Regions from separate parts of the Homo sapiens genome. Here region 2 is linked to region 1. The links are contacts of gene promoters, found by promoter capture Hi-C in human tissues and cell types (Jung and others, 2019). All regions are on one chromosome and are shown on one strand. Each heading gives the region's core, a stretch centred on a gene start or on the middle of the fragment in contact. The rest is flanking DNA. Distances are from core to core; before and after follow the strand shown.

Region 1 (4,861 bases), core at 359-2,858:
ACTATAAAGCCCAACTTATTTCCACAATGGGAAATACAATTTCCCTTTTGATAAAGAACTGTGAGAATCCTTTGTTTTCCATAGTAACACAATTTATATAACATGCCAAAAATTCCTTATCACTTCACATCCTCTCTCCAGTGCCTTTCCTGTATTCTGTAAAATATTAACTTACTATCATCAAAAAATCTTTGATTTCCCTCTGGTACTGCTACCATAATAATGCAAAGGCAAAGTGAACTCACTAAAAAATGGTATGGAAACATAAATAATGAAGAAATGTAATAAAGTGTGTTAACAACCAAACAAATTCATCTCTATTTCAAATCAAATTGTACTGGCACAGTGAGAACCCCAGTCCAAGTTTAACTTTATTATCACTATAGTCCTTAATGAGCTAACAGTTTTCTTACTAAACTCCTTTTAAACTAAAAAGGAGTTCATGTAGGACTCCTGCATATAACCATGAAAACTAAGCCTGAGAGAAATCAGTTCAGGCTACAAATCTAATTGATAAAACTCTTAGACAGCGCTACATGTTTGGCTAGATAACAGACGCAGGGATACTGAAGTAAGGGAGATGAGACCAAATCTCGCTCAGCCTTTGCTAGCTTTCTGACCTTGGAGAAGTCAGACTCTCGGTGCCTCAGTTTCCTTATCTGTATAATGGAAATGGTACCTGATAGGGTTGCTTCAAGGATTAAAGGTACCAGGTATTTAAAGCAATGGCACCGTGTCTGACATAAAATAAGCACTGAAAATAGCTATTACTAGAACATAAAAATAATCCCCACACCACTCATATTACAGCTCTTTAAGAGGCTCCTAGGTACCACCGTCATTTTTTAAAGATTGAGAAGCGCTACTATTCAATGGCATATTTTTACCTTATTATGTTCTGTAGCCAATTCCGAATACCGTGGAACGTTACAAAAAACAGATGTTATTTTCTTGAGGTACTGTTGGGAAAACCTCAGAGAGAACGATCTGCTTTTTAGCACTGCAAGCCAATTAAGGGAGGAAGTTTGCGATTACCCGAGCCCTAAGTGGAAGGTGTGCAAATCCTTCCTTTTAACCCGGGCACCCCGGAGCCATGTGCCATTCTGGAGAGCTCACTCACACCCCAACAGCTTGTCCCGGCGCCTGAACTGTGCGCTCCTGCAAGCACACGCCGCGAAAGCACCGTCTCGCCCCGGCCGAGCAGCTGGACCTGCGGCGTGGCTTCCGCGCTCCACCCCCCGATTAACCGCGAGCCAGGGCTGCCCGCGCTGCCCAGGGGTTCCCCGGACCACAGCCCTAACCCGCAAGCGCAAACGAGAACCCTCGCAGGCCTCTGCCCGGCCCTCGTGAACACACAGACCGCGAAGAAGCCATCACGGACCCGCGGTCGCTTCCTCGGCCCGGCTCCCTCCAGTCGCCGCGGAAGGTGTGGGAAGCCCGGGCACCCTCGCCCCTCAGGGCCCCGGCCAGGCCTACTGGACCTCCAGTGCTACAGGGACGGTGCAGGAGATATCAAGTGGCTCTAGCCCAGGCGCTGCCCACAGGCCCCGGGCCAAGTACCTGCGACTCGAACGAGCAGCAGCGACAGCGGCAGCTTCAAGGAGGCGGTGACGGGCGGAGGGGAGGGGCCAGACAGGGGTAGTCGGAGTCCCCGCTGGGCCAGAGCGGTCTCGCGCTGCAGCCCCCGGCGCGCCCCCTGCAGGTGGGCGGTCCTCACGGTGGCTCGGGCTGCTCTGAGTCAGAGACTCCGGGAAAGCCTGCTCTGAATTAGGGAAAGCATCAAAACTGTGGCTTCAGAAGAGAAAGACAGCCTAGAAGAGGTTTATCCGATCTGAGTCCGGGAGCATTTTGCACTTTTCACGTCCTATTCTAAATTCACATCCCATCCCCTTAGCTAAATGGGGGCTTCAAAGGCAAGGGCAGTTTCATTAGGTGCTATAAGCATCAATTAATAGTTGCTGGCCTCTAGGTAGGTCTTCTATAGACCCGAAATTGACATATTAGGAATAGCCACTAATGATTGGCTGCACTATTTCTAAAATATAACCCTGCATTTTTACTTTTTTCAAAAGCAGTTTGAATCTTTTTTTTTTTTTTTTTTTTTAGACGGAGTCTCACTCTGTCGCCCAGGCTGGAGTGCAGTTGCTCAACCTCGGCTCACTGCAAACTCCAACTCCGCCTTCCGGGTTCAAGCGATTCGCAGTTTGAATCCTTCCATCCTACTTTGTAGGGTTCCTTGACTTATTGCAACATGTACAGCCAAGACTAACTAAAAGTGTGGTGGGACATTCATATGCTGGAAACATTCTTTCATGCAAAACTAGTTTTTTCTTTTTTTCATTTTACCAACTCCAGTCCTACAGCCAAGACAACTCTCACTGCACAGTGACCGTCCTCTGAATTCTAGCACCCTCATCCAACCAAGCCACGCTCTATGGCAAACTTGTCCAACCCCTGGCCCACACCTGCAGGCTGCATGCAGCCAAGACAGTTTAGAATGCAGCCCAACACAAATTAATAAACTCTCTTAAAACATTATGAGTTTTTTTTTTTTTGCAATTTTTTTTTAGCTCATCAACAATTGCTGGTGTTAGTGTATTTTATGTGTGGCCCAAGACAATTCTTCTTCCAATGTGGCCCAGGGAAGCCAAAAGATTGGACACCCCTGCTCTAGGGTATCTCATGGTTCATTCATTCAAGGACCACCTACACCATCTAATAATTTGTTCTTGAAAGTGTCATGTAAAGGTTTAGGACTATTGTCATATTAGAGGAAATCACTATTACATTTCTTTCATGTAAGAATTATAAGATCTGGCCATGCACGGTGGCTCACACCTGTAATCCCAGCACTTTGGGATGCTGGGGTGGACAGATCACTTGAGGTCAGGAGTTCGAGACCAGCCGGACCAACATGGTGAAACCTTGGCTCTACAAAAATACAAAAATTAGCCAGGCACGGTGTTGCACACCTGTAATCCCAGCTACTCAGGAGGCTGAGGCACAAGAATCCTTGAACCCCAAAAGGCGGAGGTCACAATGAGCCGAGATCTCACCACTGCACTCCAGCCTGGGTGACAGAACAAGACTCCATCTCAAAAAAAAAAAAGTTATAAGATCTTAGGGCATTTCACATTTTATTGTGCTATGACTAATCAGCAATATTACTTGTTAAATTGATGACATTTATTAATCAGTTTGTTATTGATGTCCTCCTTCTGGTTGTGTATTGAGTTTATAATATCTTCACTGATGCCTATAAACTATGACAAATTAGCAAGGAAATTAAAGCTTTTCCCAATGTATTAATAAGATTTACTCTTCATTAGTTGACTCATCCAACAATCTGAGAGCCTCTCCATTACTTCTATTCAAATTTATCTCTTCCTCTTCATGAATTACTGCTTTTGATTGATATGAAAAAATGTAGGGATGGTGAAGACAGCTTTTTTCTCTGATGAGATTAAAGTGAACTGCATGCTGCACATATTCTATGGCTCCTTCATGTTACCACACCTGGGCACTTTGACACAGTGGCTGTTAGGAGCTGATATGGTTTGGCTGTGTCCCTGCCCAAAATCTCATCTTGAATTATAATAATACCCATATGTCAAGGGCAGGACCAGGTGAAGATAATTGAATCATGGGGGCAGTTTCCCCTATGCTGTTCTCATGAGAGCGCGTGAGTTCTCATGAGATCTGATGGTTTTATAAGGGGCTTCTCCTTTTGCTCAGCACTCATTCTGTCTCCTACCACCCTGTCAAGAAGTGCCTTCTGCCATGATTGTAAGTTTCCTAAGGCTGCCCCAGCCATGCAGAATTGTGATTCAACTGTGAGTCAATCACACGTCTTTTCTTATAAATTACTCAGTCTTAGGTGTTTCTTCATAGCAGTGTGAGAATGGACTAATACAGGAGCATTTGCAGAAGCCATTCCTACTCTCCAGCAATAAGTTAATAGTGCATGGAAGTGACCACGAACCACATGAACGTCTCCCATTAAATGCAAACCAAAGTACCCCCAGCTGCATTTCTGTTTAGCTGGATCCCAAAAATGCCTGTAGTCACTCCAATGTTAGCCAGTAGAAGAATACTCCGGAAGTCTCAGTGGAAAGAGAGAAATCTTAATCAATTGTAGGTAAAGTATTTTAATTTTGCAAGCTTTACAAAAACATATAACCATATCAGCACTGCTTCCCAGGGCCTTGGAAGGGGCCTGAACAAGGGAGGGCTATATATTGGTTTCCTATTGTCATTGTAACAAATTACCCTAAATTTAATACTTTAAAACAAGGATTATTTTACAGTTCAAGAGGTGAGAAGTCCAAAATCAGTTTCGCTGAGCTAAAATCAAAGTGCGGGAAGTGCTTTCCTTCTGGAGATTCTCAGGGGAGTTGGTTGCCATGCCTTCTCCAGCTCCTAGAGGCCACCTACGTCCCTGGCTCATGGCTCCTTTTTCCATCCTCAAAGCTAGCAGTGTAGAGCATTTTTACACCCCTCTGACTTCTGCTTCTGTCCTTGCATTTCCTCTGTGACTCTCCTGTCTCCTTATAAGGACCCTTGTGATTATATTGGGCACACTTGGATAATCCAGAATAATCTCCCTATCTCAAGATCTTTCACTTAATCACATTTGCAAAGTTCTTTTTACCATGCAAAGCAACATATTCATAGATTCTGGGGATTAGGATTAGGATGTGGACATCTTTGAGGATCTGTTATCCAGCCTACCACAAGAGCCCTGAAGCTTAAACTTTACACTCTTCAGGTAAGTCTGCCTCTTCTTCCTCATTACTAAAATCTATCTGGTCCTGAGTTTTGATCGTGAGAGTTCCAATGGCGGAGGAATACCTGTAATTAC
Region 2 (4,672 bases), core at 1,281-3,780, 720 kb after region 1:
GTTTCATTTCATGTAGACACAGAATGTTTGACAGGAAGACTGATGAAGTAGCAGCCCCTTCTGCGTAACTTGGCAACCGACCGGGGTTTCTGCTTGTTTGTTTGTTGCTCGTCTTGTTTTTGTTTGTTTGTTTTGTTTTGGTAGAGACAGGATCTCACTATGTTGCCCACGCTGATCTGGGACTCCTGGCCCTAAGTGATCCTTCCATCTTGGCCTTCCAAAGTGTTGGGATTATAGGCATGAGCCATTGTGCCCAGCCTTGTTGTTATTTTTGAAGCCTGAATGGAGGCTCTTTGTACCCTCCAACTTGTGACCTGGAAGGGACACAGAGCAAAGAACTGTCCTCACTGGCCAAGGGGGACAGAGTGCTTACAGCTTTGGGTCATTACAGCTGTTCCTTGCCAGCTCTTTGATTTCATCTCCCTATCGTTTTCTGCTTTGTTTGCATCCTTTCTCTTTCAAACTATGCCACATCGTGACACCATCTGAAAACAAAAGTATCTTCCCCCAGATCTCTTGAAAAAAGAAGGAAAAGAAAGAAATAGGTAGAAAGTTAACCCAGTGGAGACTAGGGCAGTGTCACTGTTCTTGGACCTCCAGATACTACAGTTCTGTAGGCAAAGACTGCAGCAAAAGAAATCACACACCAGCTTACTCGGCAGCCAGATCAGACTGGGTGGAGATTGCAGGCTGTCCCAGCAGGGTCAGGCCTACAGCTGACCAGCTCCACCTGCCTGCTTCTCTCTTCCAATATGCCATTCTGAAGCTTGGGTTCCTCTGCATTTTCATCCTCTTTGCCTTGCAGTCTGCTGTTCACATGCAGGGGTTACTATGGTAATAGGAAAACCCTGTCGTGTTAACAATTTTTTACGGAGAGAGTTTAGGCAGAAGCATCAAACTGGTGTGTTTATCTTTTTATGGGGATAGAAGCCTGTGTTCTGAGTTTCCAAGGGAGTCAGAGGAGTTCTGGTCTACCCACAACTGTCCAAACCACCTGGAAATGGGTCATTGCCTGGGCCACTGGGTGGGGATGGACTGCCAGCCCTGGGTGAATCAGAAACGTCTTTGCCAGGAGCAAGGAACAAATAGTCCTGGCCTTCATTCCTTTCAGATATGGTAAGACAAGGTGTGCTGATCACCTCTGCACTGAGAAATCTGCCAAGTGAGTAAATGAACACATGGCTTTGTTCTCTGTTTATTCTCTCTGTTCTCTTTTCTCCTTTAAGAGTTGTGTTGAAAATGGGATCTAATTAAACCTAAGAGCTTCTGTACAGCAAAAGAAACTATCAACAGAGTACACAGACAACCTACAGAATAGAAGAAAATATTCACAAACTATGCATCTGACAAAGGCCTAATGTTCACAATCTATAAGGAACGTAAACAAATCAACAAGGAAAAAACAAATAACCCCATAAAAAAGTGGGCAAAGGACATGAACAAACACTTCTCAAAAGAAGATGTATAAGTGGTCAACAAAGATATGAAAAAATGCTCATCATAGCTAATCATCGGAGAAATGCAAATCAAAATGGCAATGAGATGCTAGCTCACACCAGTCAGTATGGCTTTCATTGAAAAGTCAAGAAATAACATATGCTGGCAGGGCTGTGGAGAAAAGGGAACGCCTACATACTGTTAGTGGAAATGTAAATTAGTTCAGCCACTGTGGAAAACAATTTGGAGATTTCTCAAAGAACTAAAAATAGAACTACAGTTCGACCCAGCAGTCCTATTACTGGGTATGTACCGAGAGGAAAATAAATCGTTGTACCAAAAAGACACCGGCACCCACGTGTTCATCACAGCACTATTCACCATAACAAAGACATGGCATCCATCCGGATGCCCACCAACAGTGGACTGAATAAATAAAATGTGGCACATATACATCATGGAATACCATGCAGCCATTAAAAAGAATGAAATTATGTCCTTTGCTGGAACATGCATGCAGCTGGAGGCCATTATCCTAAGCGAACTAACTTAGGAACGGAAACCAAATATCACATATTCTTACTTATAAGTGGGAACTAAAACATTGAGTACTTGTGGACATAAAGATGGCAAAAATAGACACTGGGATGACTAGGGGGAGGAGGGAGGAAGGGAGGGGGGCAAGGGTTGAAAAACCAGCTGTCAGGTACTAAGCTCAGTACCTGGTGATGGAATCATTCATAGCCCAAGCCTCAGCATCATGTAATATGCCCATGTAACAAATCTGCACAGGTATCCCCTGAATCTAAAATAAAAGTTAAAAAAAAGTTGTGTCGAGTGGGTATGTAGACTGGACTGTGAGCTTCCTGAGAGCAGGGCTGAAGCTTACTTGTTTTTTGTCCCCTCTTCCCCTGCTCCCCATTGGGTACCAATTATAGACCTGTGGATGCTCCATAAATGCTTGTATTGACTTGACCTGACTAGTTGGTAACCCACAGCAATGGAGAAACAGAGAGACAGATTACATCAGTGGTTTGAAAGAAGGAAGGTACAGGGGAAGCCTTCTCTGGGGAGATCTATCAGGGCAGAGTTCCTGAATGACAGGAGCTGTGGGACGTCATGAGTCTTAAGACATCTCTATACTGGGGCTGGGAAAGTGGCACCTACCTCCTTTCTCAGATAGCCCAGAGCAACAGGTGACATGGAGTGTTCCAGATGACTATGGTGGAACACATTTACGTGGCTCATGACATGACCCACTGGCACATTCTATCTGTCCTCCAACCTCCCCTGTTTCTTCCATCTTTTAAAGACTAATTATCTCTTCCTTTGCTCTGCAGCATAAGTGATAAGGAGGTAACAGCTGTTCACACTGGCATTGTACAGAAATCATAGTCTCATAGAACATAAGCATTGCCGTGTGCCAAAGATCATCTGGAACAGTGAGTGATTCACAGTCTTTCTTTCCCCCGTGCAACACTCTAAAGGGTTGAGCCACCTTCCTATCAGCAGAAAGAGCCTTCTACAGTGGTGATCTGGACTGCGGTGGGGTAGGGTGGGGAGTGTCACATGGGGATCTCAGGGGGTCGTGATGGTAGCTGTCAGGTTTGTTTTCTGTCATCTAGAGGGCATAGCCCTGGGAGAAGGGGACATAGGACAGGTACATTGTGATAAAAGTGATTAGGAATAGCCTGGAGCACACAATGGGTAGTCCTGCCCTCTCTGTATCCCACAGTTCTGATACTCCCTTCTCTATGCTCCTTCTTAAGTTGAAAATCACTGATCAAGTTAACTTAATTTTTCAGACGTGGAAAGCCAGAGAGACCCAAAGAAGGGAGGCAGCCAGAAACACAGAGTAAAAGACAATGCTGTGTGTTAAACCCAGGTCCCACAACTCCTGGTCAAGATCAGCAGAGCATAGAACTCTCTGAAAAGGACAAACATGCTTTCTGCAGAAGAGCAAAGGATATTGATGTACTCATTTGTTAGTTTAAAATGAAAGAAGAAGGAGGGGGCCAGGGAGTTCTTGAAAAGCAGCTGAAGAAGTCAGGGACACCTGGACATCAGCTAGAGGCATGGAAGGGCAGGGGCTGGTGTTTGGAGGCAGGAGAAAATCCTGCTTTACCTGAGACTGCAGGCTGCTTTCCAGGCTGGACTGCGATGGCAGAGGTGGTGGGGGCCAGGGGCTGTGGGTGGAGATGCGCTGGAGCTGGGGCGTGCGGGATCTCAAGCCCACCGTGTGCATCCAACTCCGTATTCAGCAAGGCTGTGTCAGTCACGCACCAGCTCTGTCACACACCAGCTAAGTGACTTTGGCAAGCTGCCTAATCTCTTTATGCTTCAATTTCTTCATTTGTAAAAATGAAGATGGTAATGAAAGTACTTATCTGGCAGGTTACTATAAGGATTAAACAAGTTAATGTGTGTAGTTAGAAGAGTGTCAAGTAGAAAGTAATCAACTATATTAACCATTATAATTGTGTTTATTACCTTGGCTTGCTTATGGGTCCCCAGAAAGCCAAAGAAAGAATCTCAGGGTTGTTATACAATGTGAGCAGCTACTAGAGAGAAGATTTAACAAGGTAAATCATGGTTTAAGCCAGAACCACCAGATCCTGTCATGGGCGGATTAGTGAAGGACTCAGTGGTGAGGCCCCGGATGTACCTGCCAAGCTGGGCGTCAAACACTTTCCATTCATTTTCTCCAAGTCCCCCCTGCTTTTGGTGCCTTCCTCCCACCTCCCAGGGGTCTGCTCACATCACACTCCCTGGCGGTGAGTGTAACCCTCCTATTCCATGGGGGACAGCTCCCCCAGGCAGGGAGACTTGTGTTTTCAACTTTTCTGGGATATGCCATGAGACCTTCCCTGTGTTCAGGGCTCTGTGCCCTGCTAAGTGACACATAGCTGCTTTGATAAACAAACTCTAAACATTCATGGGATACTGTTTTCTATCAGAGTAGCCCTCATAACCATCTCAGGAAATGGTCATAATTTTTAAAATCAGTATTCCAGGGACATGGATGTTTCACTCATTAAGGAAAACGAATTCCTAGTCACAGTACATTATCCTGCGGCTTTCCAGGAATGATGTCGACCACTCTCACAGTTCCTTCTAACACCCAATAAATCCAAAATACTGCTCTTCATGACTGTCTATAAGTCCCAAAGATACTTCCAATTCTACTGTCCCAAACCGACTGCATCATCTTATCTTCAAGATCAGCTTCTTTTGT

Evidence for each region. The method cuts DNA at HindIII sites, captures the fragments that hold promoters and counts their contacts. A contact is called where the count stands out against the background at its distance.
Region 2: a fragment that was not itself captured here is called in contact with the fragment with the promoter of ANKRD46 in region 1 in 3 of the 25 tissues and cell types used here (heart right ventricle, mesenchymal stem cells and spleen).

Annotation. Positions count from the first base shown.
Region 1 is chr8:100,558,151-100,563,011 of GRCh38, forward strand. ANKRD46 (ankyrin repeat domain 46) reads right to left here and starts at 1,609. Exons shown (of 5, transcript NM_001270377.2): 1 at 1,561-1,609. RefSeq lists enhancers at 1,511-1,805, 1,773-1,912 and a silencer at 1,603-1,772. The HindIII fragment of the contact is 6,170 bases long and covers 1-3,726 here.
Region 2 is chr8:101,277,142-101,281,813 of GRCh38, forward strand. The region is part of intron 4 of LOC107984005 (a long non-coding RNA gene); the gene reads left to right. Among named protein-coding and RNA genes, the nearest start is that of LINC02844, 17 kb to the left of the region's middle. The HindIII fragment of the contact is 4,866 bases long and covers 98-4,672 here.